Regions from separate parts of the Homo sapiens genome. Here all the other regions are linked to region 3. Evidence: promoter capture Hi-C in 16 types of primary human blood cells and fetal thymus (Javierre and others, 2016). All regions are on one chromosome and are shown on one strand. Each heading gives the region's core, a stretch centred on a gene start or on the middle of the fragment in contact. The rest is flanking DNA. Distances are from core to core; before and after follow the strand shown. Region 1 holds the start of ZNF749 (zinc finger protein 749). Region 2 overlaps ZNF772 (zinc finger protein 772). Region 3 holds the start of ZNF45 (zinc finger protein 45).

Region 1 (4,864 bases), core at 1,332-3,831, about 14 Mb after region 3:
ATGGCCCATGGTGATGAACAGGTTAGACGTTATTTCACTGGGACCTCTGTAAGTATGATACATTGTAACATAATTTCTACAATGGTCACATCTAATTATATCAATCCTTTGTTCACTGCACCTTCATTAGTAAGAAGTATGCTTAATGGTAGCATTCATGGACTGCAAACAGACAACTTGGAAATAAATGAAGACCCAAATGAGAACAAACATAGCCTATTAAATCAGACCACACCGTAGTAAAGGAGTCATCCACAATCTCTTGCACTCAGCAGAGCTTGAAAGGCAAGCAGAGGTGTAAAAAGCTTCATAGTAGATAAAAGGTAAAGTATTAGGTATGCCATGACTGGAGGCTATAGTCTTGAGGAGTGTGTGTGTGTGTGTGTGTGTGTGTGTGTGTGTGTGTGTGTGAAGGGGTTATTTAGAAGGTTGACATCCTATGTGATTGGCTAGTGATGCACTGACTTTCTCCAGTTGGTCCTAAGTTGAACATATGGGCAACAATTAGAAAGCTGTCAGTTCTTAGTCATGTCTTAGCCATTTTAAGCGAGTTGTTATGTGGGATGTTGTCTGGCTTCCTGGCCTTGTTGCTAGACATAGTATTCTGACTTGGGAGTGGTTACTGTAGATACCACATTAGATTTCTGAATGGGTTGGTGTAGATTATGGGTCAGAGTCAATTTTTATATTTGGTGTAGCCGTTGTCCATTTGTATAGCAAATTTCTCACACCTAAATAAGGAACTATCCACGTTAGTGGGATTTCTTATTTTTAACTGGTTATGTTGAAAATTAGTTTAATATTCATTAATTTCCCACAACCCTTTCAAAGGTTTGTTTTTGCCAGACCTTCAGTTGGGCAGAGTTAATTTTTCCTTTTTTTTTTTTTTTTAAACTGGTTGGCAAACTAAATTGTAACGCTTTGGCCAAAAAATAGCCCTTTCCTTTTCTGAATATAAAGAGAATGGGTTTTAATTTTTGGTCTTTTCTTTGTTCTTCCTTCACTAATCCTGCAGAAGAGACCATAAGGCATTATCCAAATCTTCATTTGTTGGGGGCATGGTTTTCAGGTAGTATTGCCACCACCTGATGGCAATACTATTGCTACTCAATTTTTCTCTCACTGCTACTCAATTGCAGTGAGAGAAAAATAGCTCTAAATGCCGACTTTTTGTAGTGCATTGTAAAAAGCTGAATAAAGCCAGGGACGGTGTCCTGTACCTACAGTCCCAGCTGCTCTAGAGGCTGAGGTGGGAAGATAGCTTTAGCTCAGGAGCTGAGGCCTTATCATAAGGCCTTATAAGACTACCTGGAGGCTTCATCTGCATGATATAACCTTGGTCTTCACAACCCCTTGTCTTTTTTTGTTTTTGAGACGGAGTTTCGCTCTTGTTGCACGGGCTGGAGTACAATGGCGAGATCTCGGCTCACCGTAACCTCCGCCTCCCGGGTTCAAGCGATTCTCCTGCCTCAGCCTCCCGAGTAGCTGGCATTACAGGCATGTGCCACCATGCCCGTCTAATTTTGTATTTTTAGTAGAGATGGGGTTTCTACATGTTGGTCAGGCTGGTCTCGAACTCCCAACCTCAGGTGATCCGCCCACCTCGGCCTCCCAAAGTGCTGGGATTACAGGCGTGAGATACCACGCCCGGCCCACAACCCCTTAACCCAGACAACCATTTCTACTGATTCCAGGTCTTTAGATACAAACTCTTTCAACCAATTGCCAATCGGAAAATCTTTGAACCCACCTGACCTGGAAGCCCCGCCCCTCCCTTCCAGTTGCGCCTTTCCAGAGGAATCCAATGTACATTTTACATGTATTGATTGATGTCTTACGTCTTCCTAAATTGTTAAAACCAAGCTGTAGATGGGCCACCCTGGGCATATGTTCTTAGGATATCTTGGAGCCGTGTCATGGGCCATTAGTCACTCATATTTGTCTCAGAATAAATCTCTTCAACTATTTCACAAAGTTCCACCCTTTTCGTCGACAGAAAGATATTCCTCCTTCAACTCTCCATCACATCCTGTGTGGGTCTTTTCTTTCTTGTCCCAACAGAAGCACACTAACGATCAAAAAAAAGTCTCCAGAGCCTCAGTATGTGTGTACTTGACAAGCACAAAAGAGCTGACCGCTATGAATGGAGGACCAGTTCATTATGGTCAGCCATGTCGCTTCTGATGTTCTTCCTTTCGGGACTTGCTGTGCTTCAGAGAATCTGAAACGACAGGTCTCTGAAATATTTCTCAGACTTGTCCTAGACTGCTCTCCGGGAAAATCTGGTTACTTGCAGTTTAGGAGTCAGCAAAGCCCCTCCACGTCCTTAAGAGCCCCGGAACTGCATTTCTTAACGCTCCTCCAGGAGCCTCCAGCTTTTTTCCGTAAGGTCCGCGCGCCCAGCATTGTGAGGCGAGGCAGGCAGCAGCGTGGGAACTACATTACCCAGAAGACACTGCGGGCGACACAGGCAGCAACGTGAGAACTACATTACCCAGAAGACACTGCGGGGGCAGGGCAGCGAGTGTAGCCATTGGTCTAGCAGAGAGACGACTAATGAGGTCTCAATTGTGTGGGCGGGACTTCTGGCGGCGCCCTCATGGTTGCGTTAGCATGGCTACCTAGGGATCTGTTCACTGATTTAGAGGGTCCCAGAGCTCTGGGTCGGGACTGAGGTGAAAGAGCGGAAAAACGCGAGAAGCGGTGTTCCTTCTACACAGAGGCTAGAGTGCGGATCGGCTGAGTCGGCTGCAGGCGCCCCTGCCTCCGTCAGCGTCCAGGTGACCGCCGTTCCCGCCCCGCTCTTCCCTGGGTGGACTGGAGGAGGCCGCGCCGATGAACCTGACCGAGGTGCGTGCAGCGTCCCAGGCCGCCCCGCCCAACCCCTCCTCCCAGTGCTGAAGTCCCAAGGAGCCGCCCTGCAGGTTAGGCCCTTGTGTCTCTAAGAGAGGGGCGTTCTTGTGTGGGGTGCCCGGGACTGGGACTGCGGTGCGATGAGGCGGGGGAGCTCCCGTCGGAGACCGACACGTCTCTGGGGCTTGGAGGCACTGCAGAACGGGCGGCACTGGGGAGCCCGAGCGTCTTTGTCTCCAAGGAGCAGAGGTTGAGGCGGAGTCTCCCCTGGAAGGGCAGTGGAGCCGCAGAGAGCCATAGAGGGCTGTGCAGGGAGGACGAATGGGAGGGTCACGCCCAGAGTTAGAAGTTTAAAGTTGGGGAAAACAGGATGTTGAACGGGGGCAGGGGGACCGCTGAGGAGACCCCTTGAGTTATGGTAGGGCTGGGCCAGAGGGGTTGCAGTAGAGGGGAGATGTGATGAGACTCTGGATGGATCTCAGAGATAGGGTCAACAGGATTTCCTGCTGCATCAAACATAGCTGTGAGGGAAAGTCGGTAGTGAATGGTGTCTTCCATAGGTTTTGTTTTGGCCTGAAAAATCTGAAAGAATGGAATTAGAGATATCAGCTTAAGGAGCGGGTTTCAGACAGAAGATCCTGGGTTGGATTTTGGGCGACATCACATGGGTAGGTGGACGTAATTTCCAAAGGTGAGGGAAGGTAGCTGGCCTGGAGCTTTAAATGAGTTAGAAGTTGTGCACTTGAGAAGTTGGCCTGTGGATCAGATTGAGAAGGAAGAATCCTACATCGTTTTTTCATATGGGCTGAGGTAGGGGAGGGCTCAGATTTGGAGGAAAGACCATGGTAGGGAGGGCATCTCTGATACTCCCTGCAGAAGGGAGCAGATATGGGCTAAGAGTCTGGTCTGTTTCTGTTGAAAAAGAGGCCTGGATGGATAAGGAGTTGCCCTGGAATACAGAGACTGAGGCATGAGATAATTGTAGTCACTCCACCCTTCTAACTCAGCTGGCCCTGAGGGCCACTCTTTAGGGAACAAGATAAGGCCATGCAGCAACTGGGTCCAAAACTGGGCAGGGCTTTCTCACATCCTCCACCACAGTTAAGGGCCTCCAGCAAGCTCCCTTTACTGCATTATATGGCAGGCTGACCTGTTTGCTGAACGGACCAGTAACTGATTGACTGCTCAGCCCCATCCTACAACTCATTAACTTAGGGATGTAAAAACAGGTAATTGACTTAAACAGTAAGGAACTATATCAATCTTAAATAACCAAGCAAGTCAGAATCTAGTTTAAAGAGAGTTTATTCAAGTTCACATGTTGATGATAGCCATCTGGGACCATAGATTCAAGTTGTCCTGAATATACACTTCAATTACCACAGTGACAAGTGTTTGCTTTTTTTTTAAGGAAAAAAGAAGCAGTTTCTGAGTTGTTTACCAATAACTTATGTTAAAATAAGATAAGTTTTTATTGGCTATACATTCTTATTTATATTATAGATTACAGAAACATGAAGATAATAGGTGAGACAGCTAGTCAGGAACAGAATGTCTTAAAACAGTTGTCCTCAGGCATAGGTTCAGGGATGTGACTGACATCTCATATATTCTTGCCTCTCTGAGCCTGATACATTTTGTGTAGGTCAGACAGGTCTGGGCTATTTTTTTTTTTCCTCAGCCAATATCCTTCTAAATATGTACACATAGGCAATTGGAAATAGATGTAATCAATAATTTAAATGTATTAAAATATTTATTGTTAGAATGTTAATTTACCTGTAACTCTGCTTATAGTACAAAGCTTTATATATATATCACATTTCCTTAAAACATTAAGAAGTGTGGGCTGGGCACAGTGGCTCATGCCTGTAATCCCAGCACTTTGGGAAGCGAAGGTGGGCGGATCACGAGGTCAGGAGTTTGAGACCAGCCTGGCCAACATGGTGAAACTCTGTCTCTACTAAAAATACAAAAATTACCTGGGCGTGGTGGCGGGCGCCTGTAATCC
Region 2 (4,383 bases), core at 96-2,595, about 14 Mb after region 3:
TATAGACCAAAAGATTAGGCCTACAAAGACTGGCATTCTTTCCTAGGAGAGCTGAAGCAGTCAAGTAAGTTAGCTTGACACTAGCATAAGAGCTAGTCTTTGCCATCCTACTATCACTTCAGAGATACAGATAGTTGGAGCTCTCACAAAAGCTGTTCTTCCCTTCATACTGGCTTAGCTCAATTCTGTTCTCAACCCAACCCACAAAGCGAACAGAATCCTCAAGATTTCAGATAGTCTAAAAATTAAGGCATTTGTTGCAAAACCAGAATATGAGGCAGCCAATTTCAGGTCAGGTGTCTTGAAGGCTAGAAAAATTCGTCCCAAGTGCCATGTGAGATCAACTATATCCATGAAGGGAAACCTCTGCCAGTGGTCAGCAGAACAAAGCTCCCATTTTTCTGGCTAAAACTGGGTCATGCTCATGCTTAAACCAGTAGTGGGGCAGAAAAAAAGTGAGAATCCTTGATGGCCTCAGGCTACTGATGATTCCCTCCAGGGAAGGGAATAGTACAGAGGTCTGTCTTTTGAAACACATTGGGGTTACTTTGGCACAAGGCAGGACTCTTCCAGCACAAAGACAGATGGCTTCTAACAGGCACTGCCTTGACGAAATTCCAGCAAGAGTCTAGAAAATTCAGCATAGCTCCAGAAGGCTTCCCATATAGCTGGCACTCGGAAGAACCTCCCCAGGGTGAGTGTTTGAGTGTATAAAGTTCTACTTCTGGCTGTCGGCTACACATAAAGGCTATGCTTGGAGCTTCTCTCTGATGTCAGTTATTATGTTGAACAAGGAAACGGAATTATCTCCCATCCTAAGGCCTTTCTCCAGTGTGAATTTTCCAGTGGCGGATGAGGGAAGCCCTCTGCCTGAAGGCCTTCCCACATTCACTGCACTTATATGGCCTTTCTCCAGTGTGAATTCTATGATGCTGAACAAGTACATGTTTGTGGCTAAAGGCTTTTCCACATTCACTGCACACATAAGGCTTTTCACCATTATGAACTCTTTGATGTGCAATAAGGTCAGAGCTTTGGCTAAAGAACTTCCCACATGCGATGCACTCATAAGGCCTTGCTCCAGTATGAACACTCCAATGTTTAATGAGTCTGTATTTGTGACCAAAGTATTTTCCACATTCGCTGCACTCATATGGCCTTTCTCCAGTATGGATACTCTCATGCTGAACAAGTGTAGATTTGTGACTATAGGCTTTCCCACATTCACTGCACTTGTAAGGCCTTGCTCCAGTGTGTACTCTTTGATGTACAATAAGGTTAGAGCTATGATTAAAAACTTTCCCACATATGCCACACTCATAAGGCATTTCTCCAGTGTGGATTCTCTGGTGCTGAGCAAGTATGGGTTTGCGGCTAAAGGTTTTCCCACATTCACCGCACTCATAAGGCCTTTCTCCAGTGTGGACTCTCTGGTGTTGAACAAGTGAGTCTTTGCGGCTGAAGGTTTTCCCACATTCACTGCATTTGTAATGCCTTTTTCCACAGTGAGAGGCCTCCTCACACTTGGTGTTGCTGTGTGGCTTCCACTCATTGTGAGGGGCATGGTGCTCGAAAATGCTTGAGCTGGCTAGGAAGTCCTTACAAGCCTCCCCTGTCACAAAAGACATCTCCATTGATTGCACAGCACAGTTGTTCAGAAGAAAGGGCCTGCTCTTATCACTTCTAAAGGGTTTCTCTCCACTGTGCTGCTTCTGGTGCTGGTGAAGGTTTGCACTGAAGCAGAACTGTTTCCCACACAGCACACACATGTATGGTTTCTGCCCTGGGTGTGTTTCCTGGTGCTCAGCCAAGTGCAAAATGTCTTTTAAGACCAGGCCACATGTCCCACAGGGGTAAGCCTTCTGAGTAGAAGGACCTCCCTTGGGAATCCTGATCTGTGACATTCCTATAGAAAAGCTCTGCTCAAAAGGTATCTCTTCATCCTCCATTCCATGCCAACAACCTGAAAGCAGAGAAATGCTGGTGAAGTACAAATTGACACAGGTGGAAGAGGGGAAGCCTCACTACAAATATGTGTCTAACACAACTAAGACCAAGGTCATAGGACTGTTGTTAGGACAAGGGTCCAAACTCAAGTTCAGCAAATGTGTACTATACGGTAGTTGGCATCTAAATGTCATAGAATGGAGAAGGCCTCAACTGGGAGAGGACAAAGATGTGGGGTACAGCACAAAAAAGAGGCAGGTCTCAAAGTCATTCACAATCAGATTTTCTTGGCTGCTGGGGACAGGTGAGAGTTGTGCAGAAGGTTATGGTCCATACCAAAGAAAATCAAATTGCTACTCAGTAGTTGGTGTTTAAGGACTATTTGGGCTACACATCTCATGAAACACTAAGTACAGGCCAATGCTGGAAGGCACTGTAGAACAAGCCATGGAGAGGAACAGGTGAGACATGAAGGCAGAGGTATGGAACATCCAGAGGCCAAAGGCCAGAGTATGAAAGGCCAGTGGCCTTAGCACTAATACAACTGTAGGCACAAAGAGGCTATGGAATGATATGAACCCAGCCCTGACATCACACCTTTCCCCAGCTCCTACTCACCAGGGTCACTCCCACCTGGAGTCTCTGTGGCAACAGCTAGGGTCATGTCCACCCAGTCAGGTACCCAGGGCTCACTACCCATCACCAGTGAGGCAACTATGTGGGACATGAAAGATGTATGTCCTAAGGGAAAGATAGAACAGCACTGGTCTGGGTAACCCATATAGAAAACTAAATATTATTAAAATAATCTCAGAGTAAGGTCTTGCAGGAATAGTGCAGTGGTCCTAGCAAGTAGCGACCATAATGGTCCCTACAATTCCTGACATAGGCAGGCCACAGGAAATGTCAGCTAAAGGAAGAGCGCAGAATCCCAGGCACAGAGGTGTCATGGATACAGACAGAGGAATTCAGACAGGGAAAGGACAAGATGGATATGACCCACTGGGCTGACAATACAATGCATAACTCCTGAATCCATGCCTGCAAGGCTCTGAGACAGCAAGCGCTGGGAATGCTCAAAAGGAGAAAGTAGGAGTGCAAACAGCCCAAGCCCAGCACTCACAGAACCTACTCCAGGCACTAAGAAATGAGACAGTGTCCACGGCTCTGATGTAGGAAGGACAAAGATGCCCTGAAAAAAAGGGGAAGGGCAGGACCCAGTCCAAGTCACTGGGGTGGATGTGACGGCCTTACCCAGAGAGGCCATAAGTGCAAAGTTCTCCAGCATCACATCACGGTACAGGAGCCTCTGAGCCTCATCAAGGAGCACCCACTCCTCCTGGGAGAAGTACACGAACACGTCCTCAAAGTTCACCTGCCCCTGCCACAATCAGGAGAGCCAAGTCCATGAGCAGCATCTCTCCCAAGAACCCCCATCCGTGCCCCCACACATCTCCCTCCTGTACACCCTCCTACCTAACTCCTCAACTCAGGAAATATCAGGACCAGATGTCATTGGTGTCTTCTCTCGCCTCATGGTCCCAATGGATCACTGTGTCTACCCATAGCAACCACAGGCAGGTGAAGAAGTTGTCACCCTCTAAGCTCTGTGCTTAGCATACAGGGCCTCACCCTTCTGTAAGCAAATTCCTCTGGGGTCACTAACATCATGCTTACCAGACAACCAAAGATGGGCTTGCCTTTCTCCTTTAAGCCCAGACGTCATCAGTCTACACTTCTTTCCATATGTACATCACTCTTTGGATCACAGTTATCTCACAACTCTGGCTCTCCACCATCACTTTCCTGGCTCACTAAATGCACTACCACTGTGAAATGAATATTCTCTTTTAACTCCCAATCTACATAATCATCTTTAAGCCATTTCAGGATGATTCCCGCCCCCTTGCTCTTGGTTCCCACCAGACATGACAGAGACCTGCAATTTCTTGAAAACTCCCTTCTCAGTCTCACCTCTAAGTATTTTGCACAGGCTGGTTCCTGTGCCTGGAACAACCTTCCAACCTTATTCCAATGGTTGGCAGAAATGGAAACCCCTCCATAAAACCCCTGGCCCGGAGTCAGGACCCTGGGCTTGGGGCTTCTCCAGAGTCCTCAGACCCAAGAGATCGGAGAGTAGCAGGAGAGTGTTCTATATAACACCACAATGCTGGAGAGCGTATTGGGTGGGGGTGGGATCGGTGAGAGCATGGACATTCTCCCCTCACCTGTATAGGGTCCACAATTACTTCTGAGTTCATGGGAACCTGTGGGGAAGAGGGAGACTATGCGAGTCAAGCAATCTTGAAGGAACCCCAAAGGCTCAACCCCATCCCATATTCCTACCCAGTTACAATGTGCCTGGGAGCTGAATGTCTACCCTCTGTGCTTCCATCTTCAAGGATACCTCTTAACTGTGTTAGCTCGGAACAGTGC
Region 3 (4,780 bases), core at 1,341-3,840:
TAATGGGAGAGAGATAGGAAACCAAGAGTTATATGCCAGTGGCAAGTGCAACTCCAAAAAAGCAAAGAAAATCAATCATCTTTCTTTTCCTAATTGCAACTCTTTCTAGCTTTCTCACATAAGTAGCATTCTCCTAGCTGCCAGGAGTGAAAAACCTCAGAGTTACTGTTAATATCTATTATGGGCTGAATTGTGTGTGCCTCTCTCAAAACGTTAAAGTCCTAACGCTCGGTATCTCAGAAATAACTGTCTTTGGAAATAGGGCCTTTAAAGAGGTGATGAAGTTGACTTACAGCAAGGGAGCTCACGCACACAGAGGGGAGAGGCCTTACAAGCCACCAAAACTGGTGACACCTTGATTTTGGACTTTTAGCCTCCAGAACTGTAACAAATACATTTCTGTATAATCCAGCCAATTTGTAGTATTTTCTTATGGCAGCCCTGGCAAATGAATATAATTGCCCCTCCCTTGGCCTTCATATATAAACGATTAGTGAGGCCTAGCATGGTGGCTCACACCTGGAATCCCAATACTTTGGGAGGCTGAGGTGGGCGGATCACTTGAGGTCGAGTTTGAGACCAGCCTGGCCAACATGGAGAAACCCAGTCTTTACTATAAACACAAAAATTAGCAGGGCGTGGTGACGGGCACCTGTAAAGCCAGAGGCAGGAGAATTGCTTGAACCCAGGAGGCAGAGGTTGCAGTGAGCTGAGATCGTACCACTGCACTCCAGCCTGGGCAACAGAGCAAGATTCCATCTCAAAAAAAACAAAAAACAAAAAACACAATTAATGATAATTATTAGTTTTTAAGCCTTACTGACTCATCATCTGGGTTTGTTTTAAAATACTCAAGGGAAAAAAAGTTGGTGGGAGAGGCAATAAGATTAGCAAGAATGGAAGCAGGGTGACTGTACATAAGAGTTCATTATATTTGGGTATGTTTGGATATTTCCATAGTAAAAAATAAGGGAATAACAACCCACTATGAATAGTGTGATAACAATTTCATAAAACACAGACAAAAACACATTAAAAACTGCTAAACAGAAATGCATTAAAATGTTAATAATTATCTATATCCTAGTATTAAGGAAATTTGTAATATTTTATATTTCTGTATTTTCTACATCCTGTACAGAGAACGTGCATCTCTATGATCAAAATATGAACTACTAATATTGCTTAAAATTAAATGAGAATTCTTTCAAAATTTTCTAAAGTCTAAACTCAACCTTGCTTTCAAAATCTTCTACAGTAAAATTCCAACCTCCCTCCCCAACTTGATCTCAAATGGCTCCTCTGCAGCCAGTTTCCTATGATTATTTATATGGATCATTTATCTATTTTATTTCCTAATTCTAAATTGGGATTTCAAACTGTGAGACCAAGGGTATTCAGATGTAAGGAACCCAAGTCTAGGACACAAATCCCACTGTTCTTACTAGCACTGTGATATAGGAAAGTAAATTAGGCTCTCTCCATTTCCTCATCTGTATAATTGGTGTAATAACAGTACCCATATCACAATACCCACATCACCTTTGTAAGGTGAACAGAACCCACAACACAAGGCCTTTGTGAAGGTTCAGTGTGTTAGTTTTTATAAAGCCCTCAGAGTGATACTCAGCACCCAATGTTTAACTAGTGTGACTAATATTCATGTCACATTTTCTCCAATTATACAATAACGGAACACTTCTGTAGCAGAAACATTTGCAAGGAATGAAATACCTTCTCGCACTCGGAACAGAAGAGGAAGGTGAATGCTAGGTCCTGTCACAGTGGGGCTCTGCTGCCAGAAGCCAGGATGCTCTCCTTCCTCCTCTCCCGCAGCATTCTTTCAGAAGTCAGGGCAGGGGAAGGAAAGGAGGCTGGGAGATTGCACGATCTTGTCTGAGATCCTGGAAAATCCACAGAGGATAACTCCAGACGCCACCTGTTGAGTGATGCACTCTTTCTTAAAAAACGGGTCAGGCATAGTCCAAGAACAGCCTCCTTTCCTGCAGGAATCAGAAAGAAGAGCCAGGCGCTTGCTGAAAAATGAATATTTTTTATTATGATAGTTTTAATATTAACGGCCGACATGTTGCCACATTCCTGTACTATTCCATACACATTTTACTTGTACTATATTACTAATTGTCAAAACAAATATATAAGGTTAATATTTCCTTTTGCAGAAGAGGAAACTAAGACCAGAAACTAAGCACCGAAAGATTAAGTTCTCACCCAACGTTACACCGCTAGGAAGCTACAGAGCTGTGGGAGGTGGGGGAAGGCGGGTCGGGCCGCTGAGAGCCCAGGAGATCCTCAGACGCCTCCCCATTCAGGTCCACTTCCAACCAGGGGACTCCCGAACCGCCCCGAACGCAGCAGCTCCGGATACAGTAAGGCAATCAGCTGCCCAGCCATTCAACTCCGCCCTCCGCTGCTCGCCGCAGCGTCTTTTCCTGCTGACCGAAGTGCGAGCCCTGCTGATCCTACGACCAAACCATAAAAGTTAAAACAGGTCGCGGGGTCCCAGGACTCACTCACTTCCACGAGAGGAATGAAGGCCGCGCTCTCAACCTCTTGCCGCGGAAGTGCCCGGGAGAGCAGGGAGCTCTGGAACTACATTTCCCAGCATCCCCGGGAGGAACGGAAGCCGCTGCCCCGCCCCCTGGGCGGAAGTGCGGGCTTCGACTCCCACGGCCGAATCTTATTTCTCAGAATCCCCAAGGGGAGCGGGCTTCGTGTTCTCGTCCTCAAATAGTCGAAGTACCACCGAACCCACTGAGCACTGGGGTATAGGTTCCTATTTCCCCAGGGGAGCAAATAACAAAGCCGCGCTTTCCCAGAGCTGAAGTGCCCCCAAAAGTCTGGACCACACGTCCCAGAATCCTCTGTAGGGCTGAGCTTCCCGCCAGCCTGCAATTTTCCTTTTGAATTAGCGGGGGGAGTCTAAGTCATTGCTTGTAGAGCTCAGCCTGCTTTTTCCTTTTGCCATTGTTCCCTTTTATACGTGACAGAAGTTGCGAATATGAAAAAAAAAAAGGAAAATACAAAGGAATGCTATGTGTGAGCTAAAAACAGAGGTAATAAAAGAGGTGGCCAGAGCCGCCCAGAGCAACAAGCCTTTTATAATATGGGTATGGATTCATCTGTGATTAAAAATGCTCAAAAAAGGAGATGCAATCATCCAGCAGGACATGAAACAAAAGCAGCAAAATTCTCCACTTTTCTTGCGCTTAGTTTTCTTTCATTCGCAGGATACTGAAGAAAGTATTATAGTATTGAATAGGCTCTATCCTATATAAAATCTTGAAAACATTCAGTTCAGATTAAGGAATCACATCACTTCTTGCTCTCAGAATCAGGAATCTGTAAAGGTGTCTTATGATTTGCCAAAGTGTCTATGAATATTCAGTAAGGAGAGGGAGGTGAAGTGAGGGATTAAGACATGAAGTGCAAAAAATACAGAAAGCTATACTATTCACTTTTCTCCTAGGTAGAAACTAAATATTTTTCCAAGTTTATTATGAAAGGGTAAAGAAGAAAAAATGGAAGTTGACTACATAGGAGTAGCTGTAAACATCTGAACAATGTTCAATTTAGGCTGAGGCAGGAGACCAGCAGGGCGTGATTCCAAGATCAGATAAGAAACCTGCTGAAACCAGCAAGTGATGGAAAGCAACCTGTAAGTTCCCTTTGCTACCTATCAGTATAAGACACTCCCACCAGCGCCGTGACGGTTTATAAATGCCATGGCAACACCTGGAAGTTACCAACCCCTTTTCTAGAGATTTCCGAGTAACTCACCCCTTAATTTGCATGTAATGAAAAGTTGGTATAAATATACCCAGCCAACAGCCCATATGCTGCTACTCTGGGCACACTGCCTGTGGGCTAGTCTTGGTCTGCAAGGAACAGTCACTGAGCTTTTAACACTGTTGATTCGATAAACCTGCTTTCTTCCGCTGCTGGCTTGCTGTTGAATTCTTTCCTGAGCAAAGCCAAGAAACTGCCCTGCATCAATGCCATTTCAAAATCTGGATAAGTACTCTCTCTACTTTAGTAAGAGGAAGAGAGAAATGTAATCACCCAATGGACTCATCTTGCCCACTGCCCAGAGAGAGCCAATTTATCAAGACAGGAATTGCAATAGAGAAAGAGTTTAATACACGTAGAGCTGGCTAAATGGGAGACCAGGGTGAAGACTGAACTCTGCCGTTTTTTCTTTTCTTACTCAAATTCCTATCTAAGGGTCTGGGGAGTCAAGCCCTCCAAACCATAAAGTCTCATGAGAGGGGTTTTAATTTAACCCTATATAATGTGACTTACTTTCCAACCTGTCATAACACCTCATGACGGATAAGAAAGGAAATCAAAATACTTCAACCCCAAATATGTTTCATTGCCCTATCATGAAATAGCCCTGCAAAGTTGTCCTTTGTGGAGAAAAATCTACATTCTGTAGAGAATCTCCTTTCCTTTTTCCAGGCCATTTTTTCTGATCCAGGAGAGAATCAACTAAGAGTCTGACACTTTTTTTTTTTTTTAAGAGTTTTGCTCTTGTCATCCAGGCTGGAGTGCAATTGTGCAATCTTAGCTCACCACAACCCCCGCGTCCTGGGTTCAAGCGATTCTCCTGCTTCAGCCTCCCAAGTAGCTGGGATTACAGGCATGCACCACAATGCCCGGCTAATTTTGTATTTTTAACAGAGCCAGGGTTTCTCCATGTTGGTCAGGCTGGTCTCGAACTCCCAACCTCAGGTGACCTGCCTGCCTCGGCCTCCCA

Evidence for each region. Contacts are between HindIII fragments. The CHiCAGO score rates a contact against its expected background, and 5 or more counts as called.
Region 1: a contact is called between the fragment with the promoter of ZNF749 here and the fragment with the promoter of ZNF45 in region 3, in 4 of 17 cell types (activated CD4 T cells, naive CD8 T cells, total CD4 T cells and 1 more). The highest score is 7.7, in activated CD4 T cells.
Region 2: a contact is called between a fragment that was not itself captured here and the fragment with the promoter of ZNF45 in region 3, in 4 of 17 cell types (non-activated CD4 T cells, activated CD4 T cells, naive CD8 T cells and 1 more). The highest score is 16.8, in non-activated CD4 T cells.

Annotation. Positions count from the first base shown.
Region 1 is chr19:57,432,744-57,437,607 of GRCh38, forward strand. It overlaps ZNF749 (zinc finger protein 749), which reads left to right and starts at 2,582. Exons shown (of 3, transcript NM_001023561.4): 1 at 2,582-2,850. The coding sequence starts at 2,836. RefSeq lists enhancers at 2,167-2,466, 3,097-3,146. The HindIII fragment of the contact is 4,352 bases long and covers 304-4,655 here.
Region 2 is chr19:57,472,459-57,476,841 of GRCh38, forward strand. ZNF772 (zinc finger protein 772) reads right to left here. Exons shown (of 4, transcript NM_001144068.2): 2 at 4,176-4,214; 3 at 3,202-3,328; 4 at 1-1,963. The coding sequence ends at 816. Among named protein-coding and RNA genes, the nearest start is that of ZNF772, 2.9 kb to the right of the region's middle. RefSeq lists an enhancer at 4,309-4,383. The HindIII fragment of the contact is 6,834 bases long and covers 1-4,383 here.
Region 3 is chr19:43,932,692-43,937,471 of GRCh38, forward strand. ZNF45 (zinc finger protein 45) reads right to left here and starts at 2,591. Exons shown (of 10, transcript NM_003425.4): 1 at 2,233-2,591; 2 at 1,735-2,003. ZNF45-AS1 (ZNF45 antisense RNA 1) reads left to right here. Exons shown (of 3, transcript NR_184050.1): 3 at 1-3,123. The HindIII fragment of the contact is 8,828 bases long and covers 1-4,780 here.